Regions from separate parts of the Homo sapiens genome. Here all the other regions are linked to region 4. The links are contacts of gene promoters, found by promoter capture Hi-C in blood cells and fetal thymus (Javierre and others, 2016). All regions are on one chromosome and are shown on one strand. Each heading gives the region's core, a stretch centred on a gene start or on the middle of the fragment in contact. The rest is flanking DNA. Distances are from core to core; before and after follow the strand shown.

Region 1 (3,372 bases), core at 231-2,730, 390 kb before region 4:
CTTCCACCCACACCCCTGGCCTTCTCTCTCCTCCTTTTTCCCCATGTGCTTTTTTCTTTCTTAATCTCTCAAAACAGGCAGAAAGGTATAGAGTTTGGAGTCCTAAACAATTGGATTTGAATCTTGGCACTCACCAGCCTTGTGACTTTAAACATATTAAACTCTCCAAGATTCATTTTCTCATTTGTAAATGTAGATTCTAATACTGTACCTTGGCCTAGCTGTGCAAATTAAATGAGAAAGTACCACATGAGCCATACCTGATGGGCAGAGAAGTCACTGTGGGGAAGAGGCTGGCTTTTAAAAGGTCCCTCAAGCCATATGGGCCCCCTCTAGTTCGTTTCCTTAACCTTGAGCCCCACCCAGGGCACAAGTTGGTACTGCCTCCCTCTCTCATTTCCCAGGAGTGGGAAGATTATCGCCTCACCTGGAAGCCTGAAGAGTTTGACAACATGAAGAAAGTTCGGCTCCCTTCCAAACACATCTGGCTCCCAGATGTGGTCCTGTACAACAAGTAGGTGCAATGGGAAGGTTGGGGGAGACCATTGGAGGGCTCAGGGAGGGAAGGGGTTCTGGGGAAAATAAGAGAAATTACTTATGCTGTGGGAGGGGAGGGACTTATAATAGATATGTAGTCACTACCTAGACAGACAGACCCAGACCAGTGAGGTACAGCGTGGACAGCCAAGGTGACCTGGGCAATGACCAGCCCACTCCCAGCCGGTTAGGACTCCCAGTATGTATTTGATGATGTGGTGGGGATACAAACAAGTATTGACAGCCCCCAGCGCCTCAACTGATTCAGGAACAGGCTTTCCTGGAAGCCTGGGAAGGATCAAAGAACTTTAAGGTCCCAGTTTCTCCTCCAGGTTCTATCCTGTCTCCTGCAATAATCCATCTTATCTCTAGGGTACAAAGCCACCTTCCTCAACTGATGGGACCATGCCCTGTCCCCTTCCATTGCTTGGGGCTCCTCACTCTGGCCTCCTGGCTCCCCTGACTTCTCCACCCTCATGAGGATCAACCAGCTTATACAATGTGTGACAAGTAGCAGATGTGTCCCCTTCCTCCACCCACCACCCCCTTCTACCTGCAAGGTGTCACACAGGCCTTCTGACCAGGACACTTCTTCTGGTCACTAACCTTCCCCCCCCTCCCCATATCCCCTTCTTGCTCAATTCCACCTCTCTATACTCCTGGATGGTTACTCTCAGATCTGGGTGTCCCCTCCCCATGTCTCCCTCTGGTTTTGCTCTCCTCCCATTAGGGGCTGGGTTGATGGGTAAGGAGGAAGGAACGCTTAGGCCAGGGCTGACTGTGCCCATCCTTTGGCAGTGCTGACGGCATGTACGAGGTGTCCTTCTATTCCAATGCCGTGGTCTCCTATGATGGCAGCATCTTCTGGCTGCCGCCTGCCATCTACAAGAGCGCATGCAAGATTGAAGTAAAGCACTTCCCATTTGACCAGCAGAACTGCACCATGAAGTTCCGTTCGTGGACCTACGACCGCACAGAGATCGACTTGGTGCTGAAGAGTGAGGTGGCCAGCCTGGACGACTTCACACCTAGTGGTGAGTGGGACATCGTGGCGCTGCCGGGCCGGCGCAACGAGAACCCCGACGACTCTACGTACGTGGACATCACGTATGACTTCATCATTCGCCGCAAGCCGCTCTTCTACACCATCAACCTCATCATCCCCTGTGTGCTCATCACCTCGCTAGCCATCCTTGTCTTCTACCTGCCATCCGACTGTGGCGAGAAGATGACGTTGTGCATCTCAGTGCTGCTGGCGCTCACGGTCTTCCTGCTGCTCATCTCCAAGATCGTGCCTCCCACCTCCCTCGACGTGCCGCTCGTCGGCAAGTACCTCATGTTCACCATGGTGCTTGTCACCTTCTCCATCGTCACCAGCGTGTGCGTGCTCAACGTGCACCACCGCTCGCCCACCACGCACACCATGGCGCCCTGGGTGAAGGTCGTCTTCCTGGAGAAGCTGCCCGCGCTGCTCTTCATGCAGCAGCCACGCCATCATTGCGCCCGTCAGCGCCTGCGCCTGCGGCGACGCCAGCGTGAGCGCGAGGGCGCTGGAGCCCTCTTCTTCCGCGAAGCCCCAGGGGCCGACTCCTGCACGTGCTTCGTCAACCGCGCGTCGGTGCAGGGGTTGGCCGGGGCCTTCGGGGCTGAGCCTGCACCAGTGGCGGGCCCCGGGCGCTCAGGGGAGCCGTGTGGCTGTGGCCTCCGGGAGGCGGTGGACGGCGTGCGCTTCATCGCAGACCACATGCGGAGCGAGGACGATGACCAGAGCGTGAGTGCCGCAGGCTGGGACCCCGGGCGTGAGATATGGGGTCTGCCAGGGCCCGGGTATCTGGAAAGCAGCGGCGTTCTATAGACATGCAGAGGTAGTAGGAGTGTAGGGGAGGAAAATGTGAGTCAGGCCTGTGTTGCGGGCCTGGGTGCTGGCTAGGGCCCTTCTGGGTTGGCTTCCGGGAGATTGTGCGGCCTAAATTGGAGTCGGTGGAAGATGACCTTGCTGCTTCCTGAGGGCTAGCACCCAGGGCAAAATGCCTGAGCTGGGGCATCGTTATATGGGCAGGGAGGCCTGAAACACGAGGAGGCCCTTTAGGGTTGGCAGCCAGCCTGTGGCCGTGACCCCGAGAGTCCCTCCCCACCCCCCGCTGCTTGCATGCCCACATCCAAGTTGTTAACCTGCAGCTCTTAGCACAAGTGATGAGTCTTTTGTGCACCACACAGGCAGGAGGGGGCAACATTGAGGACAGTAGGAGTGGTGTGTATTGGGGGAGGGGTGGCGTTGGTGGCGGGGTTAGAGATTCCAGGAGCCTGCTTGTGGTGGAGAGCATGGAGTCCTAAATCAATATCCCTGCTCTTCTGAGTCCCAGGGGATGGCCTCCTGAAATATTTATGGAGATGGGGGTGGGTGAAGGGGAAGGCTCCTTGGCCCCTTCCTCAGGCTTTCTGCATACCCGGCTTTTGGCTTCTTCTACAGGGTTCCCTGAGAGCTTCTTTGAGACTGAGCCAAGAGTTGGGGGGAGATATGATAGGCTGACATCCCCCCGACCCCGCACTTTGGGTAGGGGCCGGCCCCACCCTGTGGTCAGTCTCTGGCTACCTGGCTGGTTCCAGGCTGAGGCTCAGCTGTTGCCATGGTGACTGGCCAGGTTTCCTCTAGGACAGCTGCCATTCTGGCTGGGGGATGAAGAAGGGCACTGCGGTGTGGGCCTCAGAGATCTGTTTCCCTGGACAGCAGGAGATGGGTTGGAGCTGAAGCTTGGACCAGGGAGCATACACTAGAGGAGATGGGGTGGGAACCTTAGAGCCAGCTGAGGCCAAGTGGGAGATGCTGGGATTCAG
Region 2 (2,700 bases), core at 16-2,515, 370 kb before region 4:
GGGGAGCCCAGACATGGAGGAGGACAGCTGGAGTAAGTGTTTCAGGCACACAGGACAAAAGCAAAGGCCCCAAGGCAGCCAGCGGATTGGCTGTTCAGGCGCCTGACAGAGAGCCAGTGTGGACAGAGCATATGCGAGGGATGGGGAAAGTGGCATGAGAGGAGGCCGGGTGATCACAGCAGGTTTTGCTTGTATATGCAGTGCAGTGGGAAACCACTATCGGGTTTAAAAAAAAACAAAAAAAAATGCTTTACTGAGATATAGTTCATATGCCATACAGTTCACCCATTTAAAGCATACAATTCAGTCATTTTTAGTATATTCACAGAGTTCTGCAACTGTCACCACAGTCAATTTTAGAACATTTCATCGCTCCAAAAAGAAACCTTCTACCCATTGGCGCAGTCACTCCTCATCTCTCCAACTCTCCCACTCCTGGCCCTGGCAACCACTCATCTACTTTCTGTCTCTATGGATTTGTCTATTCTGGACATTTCATATAAATGGAATCATACAATATGTGATCTTTTGTGACTGGCTTTTTTCATTTGGCATCAAGTTTTCAAGTGCATCCATATTGTAAGCATGTATCAGCACTTCACTTCTTTTTATGGCCAAAATAATATTCAATTTATGGATATATTTGATGTTTTATTTATGAATCCATCAGCTGATGGACGTCTGGGTTGTTTCCACTTTTTTGGCTCTTGTGAGTAATGCTGCCATGAACATTCACATATTAGTTTCCGTGTGGACACAGATCTCCATCTCTCTGCAGCATATACCTAGGAGTGGAGCACCGGCTCCATGGTAACTGTGTCTATACTTTAGGGTATTTAGCAAGGTTTCAGGACCACCATGATGACTGCTGACGTGGCCTGAACGCAATGGAGTGGATGCGAAGAGACAGTAAGGAGACAGGAGAGGATAGGAGAGAAGGAGCCAGTGGACAAGGCAGAGTCAACTGCCAGCTAGACAGGAGGGGACCCCAGCATTTGGCATCCTCATCTGTCAACTCCTCAGGGCTTGGTTGTGCCGCACTCTTCATTTCCTCCCCGCTTTCTTGAGGTAATCCTATGCATTCTCATGGCCATGAAGACCCTATAGGGGGATGACTCCCATATTTCTATTTCCAGCCAAGCTCCCTCCTCTGAGCTCCACATGGGAACCCCCACCTCCTATTTGACTTGGGGATCTCCCAGATCTCCCAAACTAACACATTCAAAATAGAACCCTGATCTTACCACACAGCTCCCTGACCCAGGTCTTCCCTTTCCTGTAAACAGCACCTCTGTGCCCAGTGACTAATGGTAAAATCCTAGCAGCCTTGTAGAGACTTGGGGTCCCTGGACCTTGCAGAGCCTTTTGAGGAAAGGAGGCGGGGGCATGTATCACTCACCGTTCTCCACCTTGGTGCGGAGCTTTCCTTGTTTGGGATTCTCGAAGACAGGGTAGTGGCGGGATTCTGTGCTTTCCATAGCACGGTCGCTGCAGGACTTGTCAAAGAGGGCGCCATCTCCACACGGAGCAGTGCTGAAAAACAGGGGTGGCTGTTAAAACTCACCTGTGGGAAATCTGCAATTTCGTGGGGCTCCAAAACAGTCAGATGTGACAGAAGCAAGGGATGTTTTCTAAGGCCTACCATGGGAGACTGGAGGTGGACAGCAGTACATGTGAGTCATCTACACCTGAATATGGACCTCAAACCCACAGTGGAGTGTGGCTTATTGTATCAGGTTCGATTTACAGGCCAGGAGAGCATTTGGATACCCAATTCTAACAGCCTGGCAGGGCCCACCCTGGCAGCAACAGGAACTGTACAGACCTGATATACAGATGGAATGACACAGTCTTTTTTATTTGGAGCTTTTCTCCTCCCTTAGCAGGTTCAAATATACTATCCTTCGCAGTCTGGGAGTTGTATTTCATTAACTCACTGTAGAGAAACCTACAAAAAGAAAGTCTGGTTAGGAAGGCAGGTTCAATTCTGGGAAAAGCAGTTGTTTCTATAATCTGACCTCCAAATGAGAAAGTAAGGAAAAGTCTCAATGTTGCAGACGTTTCACAGTTTATCAGGTGGAAATTCTCCAGGGGAGACCTCAGCATTTCATAAAGCATAGTTAGCCTTTTGGGTCTCCTTCATTTCTGCTGAGGGCTCCTCGCTATGGCGGCTACAGGGATTCTAGAGCAGAGCAAACTGATTCAAGGACTACAGGAAGCTGTTGCTCCTTTCTAAGTCTCTCCCTTCATAAATTAAAGAAAAGGTGAGCTAGAGGAGAAAGCTGGCAGGGGCATCAAGGTTGTGTAGGTCCTCAAACGGAAATGGAAAGCTGCCTCATCCTCAAGGCCCTGAGGACTAAAAGGTCATTTTGTGTTTTTAGAAAAGAACATGAAGCAGCAGAGTTAGCAGAAAAAAGGACAGCATTTAAAAACAGGCCGAGCAGTGGGAGGCAGCTCAGCTCACAGAGGGGATGGATTCCATCAGACAGGTTCAAATGGACGGGTGAAAAGCAAAGGCTGCCACTGCCACATCATGACCCGTCTGTCTGAGGGGGATTCAGAGGCCGTGTCAGAGCCATGTGGGGCAGGGAACTGGAGCTCTCCACAGCCGGGCAGCCGGGCCACAGCTCTGACCTCGCTCACCTGATGAAGCCTCTCCGGGAGATTATTTCTGCATGGCAGTCATTGACAGTTTCTCCT
Region 3 (3,169 bases), core at 188-2,687, 360 kb before region 4:
AGCCTCTCCAGCAACCTAACTTACTTTTCCCTTTGACAGAATTTAAGGGAGTTGAGAAGGTAATTTTCTAGTTACCAAAACAATTACCCCTTTAAAATCAGAACAACAAATATATGTTATTGTTTTGAAAACAAAAACAGAATAACCTGAAATAACCAGAACAATCACATGAAATAACAATAACCAAGGGAGATGGGACTAGGGAAGGGACGAGATGACCTCTCCTTAAGTCAGGCTCACCAGTGCACCCCTTGCCCACCTGTCTCTAAGATCTATCGTTTAGATGACTATGACAAAAGAAGAAATGTGATTGGATGAAACTGAACCCCAGTCCTCCAAGGCTGTAACAGCGCAGTAACGAAAACAATCTCCAGGTGGGAAAAGGCCACGGGACCTCAGAGTCATCTCTGTGGCTCTTCACTGCCATCCCAGGAGGATCAGAATTTGGTCTTCAGGGAGCTGGAGGGTTTCCTGATAAAAATGGCACACTGTCCTCACTCTTCAGTGTGGTACCCAGGCTCAGAAGGGATGCCAGAGACTTTTGCCCAAACCACCCAGGCTCTCCTGGATGTGTGGAGCTGGCAGCATCTGCTCCTCACCACCTCAGACCAGTCCTACCTTCCCTAGCTACTTCCCCATAGCTGCTTCCACTGCACGTTCTTCTGAACCCTGACGGACAGGGCACAAGCAACCCCATGTTCTCATATGCACATTTACCAGAACACCAAGCACCTGTGACCCCTTTCCCCACCCACCCACCTGCAAACCAGTACTGTCTTCTCCCCAGGGCTGTTCACTGGAGGGTGATGGAGCCAGGAAGTACTTATAAGCCTGGGGGTGTCAGTAAACACCTTGCTTCCTTTCCCTGGGGCTTGTAGACTGGGAGGAGGGATTCTGACAACATTTACTCACACTCACCGCCCCCTCCTCAGACTCTCCTGGAGGCTGCACAGGTAGAGGTGGGACCCTTTCTTCCATAACTCTAGCCTTCTACTCTTCCACATCCTGACACACTTAGGGGATTTCAGCATTCTTGTCAATCACTCTCATGGTGTCCTGGCTACAAGGATCCTTAACCCAGTGATCTCCATCCCTACCTTTCTGCCACACAATTGGCTTGTCTAGCTACTCCTTCAATCTCACTATGACTCTAACCTAGGCCATCACACCAAGACCTCAAATCCTGCAACTCTTTTCCAGTGGCTGATAAACTTTTTCTATAAAGGGCCAGACAGCTCTGCCACTGTAGCACAAAAACAGCCTCACACAATATGCAAAACTTTATTTACAATTCATTTACCATGAAGCTTTATTTATAAAAACAGGTAGTTTGTACCTGTGGGCCATAGTTTCTTGACTCCTGCTCTTTTCTGATGGTGACTTCCCTGTGTTTCTACAACTTCACTCCTTACTCTGGTGGAACCTGCTCCTCGCATGACCCCGGTGAAGCTGCCAGTAAGCCACCCTGATTCTTCCCCACTCTGACTTCACACACCTCCTCACCCCACCTGGATCTCATGGTCAGTTCCCTTCTCCACCCAAGGCCCACTGTCCCCCTTTTCTTCTCCAAAGCTTCCCAGTGGTACTGGAGAAGGACCTTGACTTGTGCTAACAGGGTCCATAAAAATTCCTTCTCTTGAACCTCATTTGGGTCTTCGCTGTGTGGTGGTCAATTGTGTTTAACAAACATGCCTTAGTTCACTGTGGATTGAGTACTCTTCTTTTAAAAAATTCTCCTCCCAGGGTTTGGTGACACAGCAAAGGTCTTTCACCTCTTTTTTCTTCTTTGTCCCTTTTTCCCACCCCTTATAATTTTTTAATAGCTACTGTATTAACGGATCCACCCTTTATATAATCAGTCTCCAAGGTTTTAAGGACCTCTTCTTCCTTTATAATTTATTTCCTAGGTTGCTTTAATCACTGCCCCAACCTAAACTAGCCCTCTGAAGCAAGAGCACTCAAATCTACTATGTCCAGCCACTACCTTGTGTGGGAGCTTAAGATCTGAATTTCCAACTATGTCGACAGTCTGTCCACTTAAATATCCTGCCATAACTCAAACAGCACATATTCTGAACCAAATTAATAGTTCCCTCAAACTCAGCTCCTTCTCCTGTAGTTCTTATTGCTAATGGCATCACTCTCCTCCTAGCCTATTAAGGCTAGAAACCTGCGTCATCTTTGCTGCCCGCCTCCTGGCCTCATCTCCTGGATCTCATCAGGTAGTTGCCAAGTCCCACCTTGTCTGCCACCTCTGTACTGTGTCTTAAATGTGTTTTCTTCCAGTTCCAGCCCCTCATTACCTCTTACTGGGCCATTGCAAAGGCCTATAATCTTTCTATCCCTCTACATGCCAATCCAGGTGGCACATCTCCCTCCACAGCCACCTATCACAACTCTGACCCTTTCCTTATAGAGCTCCTTAAATGCCACTTGCTTCAGGAGACTCCTGACTCCCACCTTCTTCAGCCCTTGGGGTTTCCTCTCCTTGAGCTTCTCCTACTCAGCACCTGTTAAACCATTTACTTTCCCTCGTATCAGAGCTACTGGATTTTTTTTTTTTTTATGGCACACACACATTGCAGTGTCTGAAAGGTAATTAACATTAGGTGTCCTATAAGTTATACTCAACTCTCCACTCTCAATATTCCCAACACAGTACTGATGAGGGGCTTCAGTTGATTCCATGGTGAGCTCTTGGGGGTCAAGGACTATGCTTCAATCATCTCAACCTCTCTAGCACTTGGCACAAAGCTGATTCTCAACAAACATTTGTTGAATTAATGACTGCATGAACAAGACGCCACTATGCAAGCAATCATTTCTTTCTTGTTCCTCTTGCTGCACCCTCACGCCCACCATATTGCTAGGGACAGAGGCAAATGTGTGTACAGAGTGAGTGCTGGCTCCCAGAGCTGAATTATGGGACTTAGGGGTTCTCCTATTAGCTCTTTGAGTGACCTTGGGAAAAAAAAATTGTGTTTCAAAGTGGCTAGAGTCAGTTAAAAGCTAAATGTTTTTTAAACTGCTACTCTTGGCCCAAATCTGGAAAATATTTTAATGTCTGTCTATAGAAGAATTAAATTATGAAACATTCATTCTATGGAATAGTACTCACACGGTTATTTTTTTTCTTGTGAGACGGAGTCTCGCTCTGTTGCCAAGCTGG
Region 4 (3,155 bases), core at 238-2,737:
CCAGGCACAGTGGGTCACACCTGTAATGCTAACATTTTGGGAAGCCGAGGCAGGAGGATCCCTTGAGCCCATGAGTTTGAGTAGTAACACAGCAAGTCTCTGTTACTACAAAAAAAAAAAAAGAAAAGAAAAGAAAAGAAAAAAGAAAAAAAAAAAGACAAGAAAAAGAGGGTGGAGAGTGGAACCAACATAGTGCAGTAACTATGTTTTAAAAACAGGCAGAACTAGGATGGAATCCCAGCTCTGACCCTGAAAAACAACCTCAAGACTGTGGAGCATGTATTTAACATTTTTAACCCCCAGATTTCTCATCTGTAAAATAGGGATAATGCCTATCTCCCCAAACTGTTAAAGCATGTTAGCGCAATCCCTGGCACTAAAAAAAGGATCAGTAAGTGGTAGGTGTTACGTTATCATCAGGAGGAAACCAGGACAGGAAACATGGAGGAGACTGGAACCCTGCGTGGTAAGAACTTTGGTCGAATCATCTCTTAGGAGAGGATACTTTCCCCTAAACTTGTTATAAGGTTCAGCGAAAGAACAAGAAGCAAAGCAAGAAAGACAGTTTTCTCTCTCCTCCCTGCAGCTGATACAAGATACAAACAGATACTGGAATGGCAGAGTAGACAGTGTGCCGCCAAGGGGCTGCTGGGAACCAAACCCACCACCAACCACCATTCACCTGAGTATTTGACTTCCTTCGCTTCTTTTCTGGACTCTTCATTTGCAGACCTGGAAGAGCGGCAAAAGGAAGACGCAGACAAGTTTCCCTGAGGTTTCCCCAACCTCTTTTCTCTCAGCCATGCTCTGAGGAACTCCTTTAACGTCAATACATACTTGCTTATTTATTCAACAAATGCTAACAAGGGGTGCAATATGAAAAATAGATTGTGAAGATGATCATACTCTCAGCTACGTCTTCCTTTAAATGAAAGATATCCCATCTTTCGATATCCTCAAGCTCCAAGTGAGTACTGAATTCCATGTGGCTCCAAACCCTAGAGTCCTCAATGTGTGACACCTGCCCCCAACCCCTGGAGGATTACACCCACCCATCCTTTTCACCTGAGCCTCCCTTCAAGCCTTCAGACTGTGAAACACCCCCCGCCCACCATCCCTCCCCTCTGAGGTTCCCAAGTCCTGGGCCTCTTCAGCCCCCGCCCCTCGCAGCGCGCTCACCGGCCTTGCCCTGCTTCCTCCCGGTGCTGGGCGGCGCAGGGGGCGGTGCGGGGCCGCCACCTCCCTCCAGCTTGTCCGGTGGGGGCGGCGCCGAGGCGGCCATGGAGTGGGGGACCCGGGTTAGCGGCAGCGGCGGGGGATGGAGGCGCCCTTGGGCTGCACCATCGCCCAGAAGGGGTGTCAGGGGCAGCCCAGGCCCCCGAGCTGCAGCAACCACAAAGTGCGACGACAGGGAAGCGCCGAGCCGCCGCGCAAACTGCGCGCTCTCTCCAGACTCGCCGCCCGCCAGCGGCGGCAGCAACCGGAACCGGAACTCGTCGCGGCCACCACCACTGAGCGCTGCGGGGAGGGGGAGCAAGGACCGGACGAGACGCTACGCCTGAAAACAGGCGGCGGGCGAGGGACGAGGCTTACCACGGCACCACGCGAGTGGAAAGGGTCGTCTCCGCTAGCGGCGGCCCACACCAGCTCACCGAGGGGCGGCAGCGCGCGGCCCGGCTGCCGGACCGTACCATCCCGGGCGGTGGAGCCGCCGCGGAGGGGCGCGCGCGAGCCGAAGGCGCACCCGGGAGGCCCAGGTAGCCCGGGGGCCGGTGCTGGGGCGCCGGGCAGGCCCGGCTCCCGCCTCGACCCACCCGGAGCCAGCCCCCTCTGCGGACACGACATCCCCATGGGGACGGTGGCGCGAAACGCCCCACTCTGCCGCACCCAAACTCTGCAGACCCCCAGCTTCCCTGGGCGGCCGCGACCTCCCGCCTCCCCGTCTGCCGCTGAGGGCCCGCGGCGTACACAATAGGCTTCCCAGAAGGGTTAAGAGGCAGAGGTAGAAGAAATACGGACTTTAATGAAGAGTTTTCCCTTTGGTATAAGTGAGACCCGTGGAAACATCCAAACAGCAAAAGGAGGCCAGGATGAAAACGGTCAACTCTCCCTTATCCACAAGGCCAAAAGAGGGGGGGCCGGCTTGCTGTGGTGTGGCCACCCCGGGCCTAGGCTGGGCCGGGCCTGTAGAAGGTACTCAGGAACTGCAGGTTTTGCGTTTCCCCTCCATGAAACTGACAGGCATTCGGGCTGACTTCTGCCTCTCAGTCTCGCGGTAAGAGACCCAAGTTTTTCTAGTCCTAGATGGAAATAAATTTCATCTGCCTCAGGTCTCTGGTATAAAAGGTGCGATCCCAGTTACCTCACAGGCCTAGGCGAGGAAAATGCCAAGAGCTGTAAAAGGGCTTGGAAAAGTCAAAAAGGTGATGTATAAATGTAATAATTGATTATCATTTTGTGCTCAAGAATAAGCAATGGAAAAGAAAATAGGAAAGTAAGTCTACAGCCCTAAAATATATGCATATAAAACTTTAAAAGAATGCAGTTCCAACTCTACAGATGGTATGTGGGGATTGTCTACTGCTTTATAGTCTCAATGCCCCTTTTCTCACCTCCACAAAATCCACCTGGGAGAGTTAACTGTACAAGAGGCCCAAATTCAGTCACCCCCACCCCGCCCTCCCAGAAAGGGAGGCAGGGCAGAGGCTTCAGGAGGAAGGGCTGCACTTTGGCGTAGAGTACATAGGCATGCAACATGGGAGGGCAGGCCTTATGAAATGTATATACAGACCCCTTGGGGTGAGGGGCCCCGGCCAGGAGGCACTGAGCAAGGGAGGGGTCCATCTCCCGCCTGGCCGGGAGTGGGGCTCTGGGGCAATCTCTAAGGGTTGCATATCCCCAGGGAGAGGGGACAGCTGCCACTCCTGCCTCTGTTATCCCAACCCAAACCGGAGAGGGTGCTCAGCAAGAACACAGGTCCCAGAAGCCAAGAAGGTGTTGGCATCCCTGTCATTGAATTCAGGGGTCCAAGAACTGTTTGCATAAAATATCATTAGACCTAAGAGATGGTCAAAGGCACAAAGTTTAAACATGGGGGGGGCGGGTGTTGAGAGGGGTCTGGGATACCCTGAAGCCCAGAGGTGTGATTTGTTCCC

What was found. The method cuts DNA at HindIII sites, captures the fragments that hold promoters and counts their contacts. A CHiCAGO score of 5 or more calls a contact.
Region 1: a fragment that was not itself captured here is called in contact with the fragment with the promoter of PYGO2 in region 4 in 5 of 17 cell types (fetal thymus, endothelial precursors, naive CD4 T cells and 2 more); the score reaches 7.5 in fetal thymus.
Region 2: a contact is called between a fragment that was not itself captured here and the fragment with the promoter of PYGO2 in region 4, in 1 of 17 cell types (M1 macrophages). The highest score is 5.3, in M1 macrophages.
Region 3: a fragment that was not itself captured here is called in contact with the fragment with the promoter of PYGO2 in region 4 in 5 of 17 cell types (naive B cells, fetal thymus, activated CD4 T cells and 2 more); the score reaches 7.2 in naive B cells.

What each region holds. Positions count from the first base shown.
Region 1 is chr1:154,569,854-154,573,225 of GRCh38, forward strand. CHRNB2 (cholinergic receptor nicotinic beta 2 subunit) reads left to right here. Exons shown (of 6, transcript NM_000748.3): 4 at 405-514; 5 at 1,336-2,308. Among named protein-coding and RNA genes, the nearest start is that of CHRNB2, 3.8 kb to the left of the region's middle. The HindIII fragment of the contact is 3,612 bases long and covers 1-3,286 here.
Region 2 is chr1:154,586,726-154,589,425 of GRCh38, forward strand. It overlaps ADAR (adenosine deaminase RNA specific), which reads right to left. Exons shown (of 15, transcript NM_001111.5): 9 at 2,644-2,700; 10 at 1,826-1,948; 11 at 1,400-1,533. Among named protein-coding and RNA genes, the nearest start is that of ADAR, 20 kb to the right of the region's middle. RefSeq lists an enhancer at 1,975-2,700. The HindIII fragment of the contact is 3,100 bases long and covers 1-2,700 here.
Region 3 is chr1:154,602,886-154,606,054 of GRCh38, forward strand. All of the region lies in intron 1 of ADAR (adenosine deaminase RNA specific), which reads right to left. Among named protein-coding and RNA genes, the nearest start is that of ADAR, 3.7 kb to the right of the region's middle. The HindIII fragment of the contact is 265 bases long and covers 1,306-1,570 here.
Region 4 is chr1:154,960,295-154,963,449 of GRCh38, forward strand. It overlaps PYGO2 (pygopus family PHD finger 2), which reads right to left and starts at 1,488. Exons shown (of 3, transcript NM_138300.4): 1 at 1,180-1,488; 2 at 683-732. The coding sequence starts at 1,282. SHC1 (SHC adaptor protein 1) reads right to left here. Exons shown (of 12, transcript NM_001130040.2): 12 at 2,004-3,155. It overlaps PYGO2-AS1 (PYGO2 and SHC1 antisense RNA 1), which reads left to right and starts at 1,244. Exons shown (of 1, transcript NR_171036.1): 1 at 1,244-2,329. RefSeq lists silencers at 1,034-1,493, 1,544-1,953 and enhancers at 1,095-1,835, 1,836-2,575. The HindIII fragment of the contact is 6,114 bases long and covers 1-3,155 here.